Regions from separate parts of the Homo sapiens genome. Here regions 1 and 3 are each linked to region 2. Evidence: promoter capture Hi-C in human tissues and cell types (Jung and others, 2019). All regions are on one chromosome and are shown on one strand. Each heading gives the region's core, a stretch centred on a gene start or on the middle of the fragment in contact. The rest is flanking DNA. Distances are from core to core; before and after follow the strand shown.

The links. Contacts are between HindIII fragments. The study calls those that stand out against the background at their distance.
Region 1: a contact is called between a fragment that was not itself captured here and the fragment with the promoter of AKAP5 in region 2, in 1 of the 25 tissues and cell types used here (hippocampus).
Region 3: a fragment that was not itself captured here is called in contact with the fragment with the promoter of AKAP5 in region 2 in 1 of the 25 tissues and cell types used here (liver).

The regions. Positions count from the first base shown.
Region 1 is chr14:64,644,450-64,647,156 of GRCh38, forward strand. No RefSeq gene overlaps it. Among named protein-coding and RNA genes, the nearest start is that of PLEKHG3, 59 kb to the right of the region's middle. The HindIII fragment of the contact is 5,708 bases long and covers 1-2,707 here.
Region 2 is chr14:64,464,220-64,466,919 of GRCh38, forward strand. AKAP5 (A-kinase anchoring protein 5) reads left to right here and starts at 1,280. Exons shown (of 2, transcript NM_004857.3): 1 at 1,280-1,394. It also overlaps a transcript of ZBTB25 not described here. RefSeq lists silencers at 1,075-1,474, 1,485-1,554. The HindIII fragment of the contact is 11,787 bases long and covers 1-2,316 here.
Region 3 is chr14:64,624,336-64,627,035 of GRCh38, forward strand. No RefSeq gene overlaps it. Among named protein-coding and RNA genes, the nearest start is that of PPP1R36, 76 kb to the left of the region's middle. The HindIII fragment of the contact is 6,462 bases long and covers 1-2,700 here.

The sequences.
Region 1 (2,707 bases), core at 163-2,662, 180 kb after region 2:
TTTTATTGTGTTAATCGACTGAGAATTTGGATCATCTGTTACAGCAGCCAGCATTCATTCTCCTAGGTGGTAAATAGGGCAAAACACATTATGTGATAACAGATGGTACCATCAGAATGTGCTGGAGAAGCTCATGAGAAGAGAGCCTACCAGGAGCTGGCATGGACAGGAAAGGTCTCTTACCTTCAACAAGAGCTAGAACTCAGATGGAACGCTGAGCTTAGATAAGTGACTAGAGAGAGCAAGATCCTACTGTCAGAGGCATGCGAACGAGAACAACTCCATCTTGAATAGGGGCTGGGTAAAATAAGGCTGAAACCTACTAGGCTGCATTCCCAGAAGGTTAGGCATTCTAGTCACAGGATGAGATAGGAGGTCGGCACAAGACACAGGTCATGAAGACCTTGCTGATAAAACAGGTTGCAGTAAAGAAGCCGGCTAAATCTCACCAGAACCAAGATGGCCACGAGACTGGCCTCTGGTCATCCTCACTGCTACACTCCCACCAGCGCCATGATGGTTTACAAATGCCATGGCAATGACAGGAAGTTATCCTATATGGTCTAAAAAGGGAGGCGTGAATAATCCACCCCTTGTTTAGCATGTAATCAAGAAATAAACACAAAAAATGGGCAACCAGCAGCCCTCGGGGCTGCTCTGTCCATGAAGTAGCCATTCTTTTGTTCCTTTACTTTCCTAATAAACTTGCTTCACTTTACTCTATGGACTTGCCCTGAATTCTTTCTTGTGTGAGATCCAAGAACCCTCTCTTGGGGTCTGGATTGGGTCCCCTTTCCTGTACCACTGCCAGGCGGGGGCAGAGGCACATGCTAAGGACAGGTAGAGAGCACCCAGTTCCTGCACGGGGAAGACAGGGTAGGGCCAGCTTTTGCAGAGGCCCCGTCATGCCCTGAAGGATCTTGGAAAAGAAGGGTTAAAGGCTGTTCTTTCCTTAGTAGAGCTGCCACCCACAATTTGAAATGACATATGTGCTCCGCCTACGCATTCAGGGCAGTTTCATGGGAGATGTGCGTAATTCCTTTAACCTGACAACATGACCTAGTGTCTCCTCTTTATTTTATAATGATCTACTTTTAAGAGAATTTATGGAGTCTGATGAATAGCTTCACATTTTTTCCTTTGAACTCCCAGATGCTGACCATATTCCAAATTCCAGCTGAAGTTCCCAGCCCTTCACCAGAGCCGTCTGGTAAATTTCTAACACTCCCCAGGACATTCCTGTTTCCTGCTGAGAAAGAAGAAAACAACAGTGCTTCCCTGAGGGCGGTTTGCTTCAGCCCCCAGGACTGGAAACTCCATTTTAGGAAAAGTGTTTACAAGGGTATAAAACTCGGAGAGGAAATGGCCTGGGAGTCTCTTGGGAAACCATCTGCGACCCCATCCTAAGGGTTTGCTGCAGAATTCTGTGGCATTCCTCAGCAGTGGGGCTGCCTAGGACATTCACTCTGATTTTGAAAATACATTGAAGTGCAAGTGTGTGTGCCAGTGGGCATCTGAAACAGCCCTGAGAAAATGACAGGCAAAGGTAAAAGAAGTGGGGGAGATAAAGAGAGAAGGAGGGAGGTGAAAGGCCTTTTTCTGCAAAAAGATCTCTTCCATGCATTTGAATATTTTTTAGGTACGGAAATATTCAAACATACAAAAATAGAGAAGATAGTGAAATGAACTACCATGTATTAAGTCATCCGGCTTCAACAAATATCGACATTTTGTACATCTTTTTCACCTATCTGCCCCCTCCTTTTTTTTTGCGGTAGAGCTGGGATTGGTAAATGACAATCCCATGGGCCAAATCCAGCCTGCCTCCTGTTCTTGTAAACAAAGTTTTATTGCAACACGGCCATGCCATTCACTTATGTATTTTCCATAGCTGCTTTTGCAACACAACAGCAAGGCTGAGCAGTCATGATAGAGACCATATGGCCCTCAAAAGCTAAAATATTTGCTATCCGGTCCTTTACAGAAAAAATTTGCTGGCCCCTACACTAGAGTCATTGCTGGGACCATAGGTGTGCACCACCACACCTGGCTAATTTTTATTATTATTATTAGTAGTAGTAGTAGTAGTAGAGTCAGAGTCTTGCTATATTGCTGAGGCTGGTCTTCAATTCCTGGGCTCAAGCGATCCTCCCACCTCAGCCTCCCAAAGTGCCATGATTACAGGTGTGAGCCACTGCACTAGGCTTAGAGTCCTAAAGCAAATACTAGACATCATATTATTTCATCTGGCTTCAAGTTTCCATCTCTAGCAGGTAAGAACTTTATAACTACCATACCAATAATGAAATGACCATGCCTAACAAAATTAGTAATTCCATCACCTCATCTCATTTATAATCTGTGTTGCAAATTACCCTAATATCTTGTGTTTTTTTTTTTTTTAAATAGAAACAGGGTCTCGCTATGTTGCCCAGGTTAGTCTTGAACTCCTGGGCTGAAGTGGTCCTCTCGTCTCGGTCTCCCAAAGTGCTGGGATTACAGGCGTGAGCCACCACGCCCAGCGCCCCCCAATATCTTTAAAAATATCTTTTTACAGTTATTTTTTTTACATCCTGATCTAAATAAAGTTCTCACATTGCATTTGGTTGATATATCTCTTAAGTATTTCTTAATCCGTTGTCATTTCTCCCTTACCCCCTTGCCTTCTTTCAATTACATTTATGTGTTAAAGAAACCAGGTCGTTTG
Region 2 (2,700 bases), core at 30-2,529:
TTTGTCTCCCTATGTTGCCCAGGCTGGTCTCAAACTCTTGGACTCAAGCCATCCTCCTGCCTTGGCCTCCCAAAGTGCTGGGATTACAGGTGTGAGCTACTGCGCCCATCCCTGAATTCTTAATTACAACTAAACTAGATGCTTATGGATTTTCCTGTTTTACAACTCTTGCCTCTTTTATCTGTAATTTTAAGATCTTGACAGCTTATATTTGGCTTTGCTTTTGTGTCTCAAGAGTTCTTTCCTTGATAAGCCTCTGTGGAAACTACAGAATCTTACAAATATAAAACATTTCCGGAAAAAATACAAAAATGGACACCTGACATTTACACTCCCTAAGGTCGTGATCCTGTTGAAGAAAGGAGATGAACGCGGCTGCTTTTCAGTAGTTCTTCACTTCACCTTACCAGGTTCTTCATCTGGATGCTATGCTATGGGGGCCAGAGGAGGAGGCTGGGATTGTGATGGATCCTACTAGATTTTACAGCTGGAGCTCCCAGGAATGCCCTCATAGGGAATGTCCTGAAGGGAATCATGGGTAACTTGTAAGCTACCTCAACTTATTTTTGGAACTATGTAAGGTATAAGATGGATGGAGCTGGGTTCCTGTGCCTTTCTCACCTTGTCCGCATAGAGATGCAGCTGCTCCTGCAGGCCAAAGTTCTGCACCAATCACCTCCACCTGCTTCCCACTGGGAGACAAAGGTTTGAAAGCCTGTTTGGCGATGAACCACGATGATCTGACACTCAAGCCACTCCTGAGAAAGTCGGGTTTCTTTCTGTTTCCATTTATATATGTAATTTTCGCTTCAAACAAACATGACCTCGCTATTCTATGCACAGTTTTGAATCCTGCTTTTAAAATGCGATGTCTGCCTTGTCTTTAAATATTCTGAGGGGGAGGAGAGGAGATGTGTAATGCGACTGTCTATAATTTGAAACCGGACCTCACTATTTAGCGTCTCAGAAAACGCGGGGTTCATTGCCCTGGTCCCCCCCGCCTTCCCCCGCCCCCCGAACCTTCCGGCTGGCTCTCTTGCGGTCCCCGCCTCGGCGCTGATGTGGTCTGGCAGTGGAGATTGGCGCCCGGGCGGAGCACGATGGGCTTCCCCGCGGCAGGCAGGCAGGCTGCTGCTGCAGGTGGGTCCCGGCGCCCGCGCCGCCCCGCGCCTCCGGCGGTCGCCCCGCCCCTGCCCGCCCGCTCCGCTCCGCTCGCATTGGCGCTGCCTGCTGTCTGTCCCCGCGCGGTGGGGAGGGGGCGCACCCGGCGGCGGGCTCTGCAGAGGGCGCCTTGCTCCGGGTGCGACCGCGGCTCCCTGGAGGCCTGGGCGGCGGGCCCCGCGAGCGCGCCGCCACCTCGGGAGCAGTGTTGGCCAAGGACCCCGACGCCCTACGTAAGTAAAGGCAGGGCGGGGAGCCTGCGGGGGAGGAGGGTCGGGGGCAATGTCCGGTCCGCGGACCGCGGAGTGGGCAAGAGGTGCCCACTGGATACGGGGTATCCGAGCCCTCTGAGGTGCTGGGAGTAAGAACGCGGGAGGTCGCTTGTCCGCTGGAATCCGCGGCCAGGGCGACCCTCATCAGGTCTGCCCACCTATCCCCTTCGCGTTACAGCTTGTCTTAGAAGCATGGGTTGCCGGTGGCTTTTTTCCTTCTTTATCCCTCTTTGAGAAATGTGATTTTGGGTTTCTGGCCATTACATTATAATTCTGCAGACAGCCTGAAGCTGGGTTATCTGTTCCACGCCCCCGGCATTTTCCTTTTTGAGTACTTTATCCTGCGCTCTGTCTCCTGCCATAAGGGGCGTCAAGCCAGAATTCGAGATTCCTTCCTCCAGGAGGAAGCTTCGTGGTCCGTATCTGGTGCTGGGAAAGATGCATTGCTTTCCTCGGGTACTGGCTGCTCAAGGGAAAAAGGAAAGGGGGTGTTTTCTGTGACATGAGACTTGCAATTCCATCAGGAAATGAGCACAGGGACTTTAAGATTTCCTGAGGCGATAAAGCTACCCTTGCTGGTTAAGAGCGAATCATTTGCAGTCTGACATTCTGCAAAGTTTTATTGTCTACAGACTGCATTATTTTCCCTCGTTAGTTAAGTTTCTGTTTGGGTATTCGTTTTATTTCTAGTATGTGAGATACATTCAAGTGAGCTTCTCAAACGATTGTCTTTGCGCAATCCAGGTTAGTTTCCAATGACAGACTCCTAAACATCTCATTTCAATATTTCTATTATGTGGTAATACAGCCTCTGCTTAACAAAAATGCTCAGGTGCTGAAAACTCACAAGAGGTGAGAAGATTTAAACAGTTATCAGCTTAGGTTCTAGTGCTCACTGAAACATTGTGAGGAGAAACACTGTCAAATGTTCATATTTTAGTTCCGTCATTGTTCTAGAATGACTTTATCTTTCTGTTAGAGGCACACAGTATGAAACACCCAACCTAAGATAATATTTACTTAGATCATAAACTGATTTTCAGGGTTCCAGTTCCTTCTACAGTTCATAAAATTATGGGTTACCCAAATGAAACTTCAGTGAAGGATTTACATAAAAACAATATAAAGAATGAGTCCCTTTGCTTATTTTAGGGCATCCACCCACTAAAATTCATAGGATCTTTGTTGGATAATCACCTCCCATTTCCATTCTTTGGTGCCATCATACCATTCTAAGGATTAAATTTTCAATACACCTTTATATTAT
Region 3 (2,700 bases), core at 127-2,626, 160 kb after region 2:
AGAGCAGTTTGAGGTCACTGTGGCCTGGAGGGCTCATGGAAGGAGAATCAGAAGAGCTCTTTGAACTGAGTCTTAAAAATCAAGGAAGAGAGGCCGGTCGCAGTGGCTCACGCCTGTAATCCCAGCACTTTGGGAGGCTGAGGAGGGAGGATCATGAGGTCAGGAGATTGAGACCATGCTGGCTAACATGGTGAAACCCCGTCTCTACTAAAAATACAAAAAAAATTAGCCGGGTGTGGTGGTGGGTGCCTGTAGTCCCAGCTACTCAGGAGGCTGAGGCAGGAGAATGGCATGAACTCGGGAGGCGGAGCTTGCAGTGAGCCCAGATTGTGCCACTGCACTCCAGCCTGGGCAACAGAGTGAGACTCCATCTCAAAAAAAAAGAAAGAAAAAAATCAAGCAAGAGGCTGAGCGTGGTGGTTCACGCCTGGAATCCCAGCACTTTGGGAGGCCAAGGCAGGAGGATAACTTGTAATGAGGAGTTTGAGACCAGCCTGGGCAACATAGTGAGACCTTGTCTCTACAAAAAATTTTTAAAAAATGAGCCAGGCATGGTGGCATGCACCTGTCGTCCTGGCTACTTGGGAGGCTGAGGTGGGAGGATCACTTGAGCCCAGGAGTTCAAGGTTGCAGTGAGCTATGATCACGCCACTGCACTCCAGCCTGGGGGACAGAACTTATCTCTGGGAAAAAAAATTAAGGAAGAGTTATTCAAGAAAGGAAGGAAAACAATCAAGCTATTCTACACTGTGTGAAAGTGAGGGTGAGCTGAGCCCTTCCAGGGGCTGACGCTGTGGCCCCTTCCTTTACTTTGAAATGCTTCCTTTCTGCTTCAACTGGTTTAACCAAATAACAGAACCCTGTTAGGCTGCAGGCCTACCCCTAAATCAAATGACGATTTGAACTCCTGAAGGTGAAGGAGCCCCTAAATCCCAGCTCCCCCACGCTGGCCCCAAGTGACCCAATACATGCATATATAGTCTCAGAAATAAGAATAGCTCATTTCAGAAGCTGGGGTCAGGTGTGGGGTTGGACAGAGGGTGAGCCAAAGGCTAGCCGGGGTGGAAGGTGAGGGGCAGGAAGATACCCCAGAAAGAGCTGCCGAAGAATGGTGAAGATTTGTGCAGAGACTCTTATAGGCTTGAGGAGGTCAGACAACAGGCTGCTCTGTTTGTCTTGTAGGTAGGGGCAGAAAGGCAAATAGAAGGAAAGAATCCAGAGCTGATCTGCCCCACCCTCTGAGTTCCATATTGAGCCTTTGTAATCCAATAGTAAGATTCTCCCTGAGGCAACAGACTCTTATGTCTCCCCGCTTTCACAGCTACAGGGATTTCATACTTTAAACTCTGCACATGGAGGGAAAATAACAGGAAGGACATGCGCGGTGAGCTCTGTGACCTTGGGTCTCTTGTCGGTCTCAGTGCCTCTGCGCTGTTTCCTTGCACTTGACCTGGGTGTCCTGGCTGCTGCCAACTCCGGAGCCAGCTCTTGCCTCGGCTCACCAGCTTCTCCCCGCACCCCCTGGCTGCACTTTCTCTTTTTGATCTCTATGCTAACAACAGCCCAGGCAAGTCAGGAGTACCACGGGGCCTGCCCAGGCCCTTCTTCTGGATCTGGAGCAGGAGGGAGGAAGAGGCAGGAGCCCAGCATGTGTGAGGGGTGAAGCCAGAGGAGAACACTGGGAGTGCCCCCCGACTTGCTCCGTGAGGGCCTCTGCCGGGTCTGAAGGGCTGCTCAGGAAAACATGCACCTGAGCCAGTGGCCCTGGGGCTCTCAGCCTGCCTGGGAGCTGGGAGCCGGGAGCCACTGTAGTTTGGTTTTTGTGTGGGAGTTGCCTTTTATTTTTACCTGTGTATTTATTCATCTGGATTGTATGATAACTCTAAGAGGACAGGTCTAGTCTTCACCACTGATACAGTTTGGCTGTGTCCCTACCCAAATCTCATCTTGAATTGTAGCTCCCATAATCCCCACATGTTGTGAGAGGGACCTGGTGGGAGGTAATTGAATCATGGGGACGGTTACCCCCATGCTGCTGTTCCTGTGATAGTGAGTGAGTTCTCATGAGATCTGATGGTTTTTAAGGGCTTTTTTCCCCCCTTTTGCTTGGCACTTCTTGCTACCACCATGTGAAGAAGGACATGTTTGCTTCCCTTTCTGCCATGACTGTTAAGTTTCTGGAGGCCTCCCGAGCCCTGCTGAACTACGAGTCAATTAAACCTCTTTTCTTTATAAATTACCCAGTCTTGGGTATGTCTTTATTAGCAGCATGAGAATGGACTAATACAAACACTATCAGCAAGAAGTGTCATAATGGCACTGCCAAGGGGAGGTGCCCAGTGAGGCTTTCTTCAAATGAAAAGACAATATAAGCTTCAAGAGGGTGAGGTGGAGGGGTTTGCTGTTTTATTTATTGCTGTAACCTCTAGTCTGGGGGTGGGGATCCACTGTGCTATGTTAGAAGCATGATAAGGGAAAGAGAATCACCATCTTTACTGTTCCCATAGGTGTAAAAACCACTTACAGTTCCTTTGTCAGGAGTATTGGAGACCTATGTGCTTGTCACATAGTAGGTACTAAGTAAATATATACTTTTTATTGAATTAAGTAAGCATTTACCCTGATATAGGCTAGAAGCCTTTTTAAAAGGTTATGACCTGGAGAAAGTCATGGCAAAATTTTTGCAGAGCCCAAATTCCA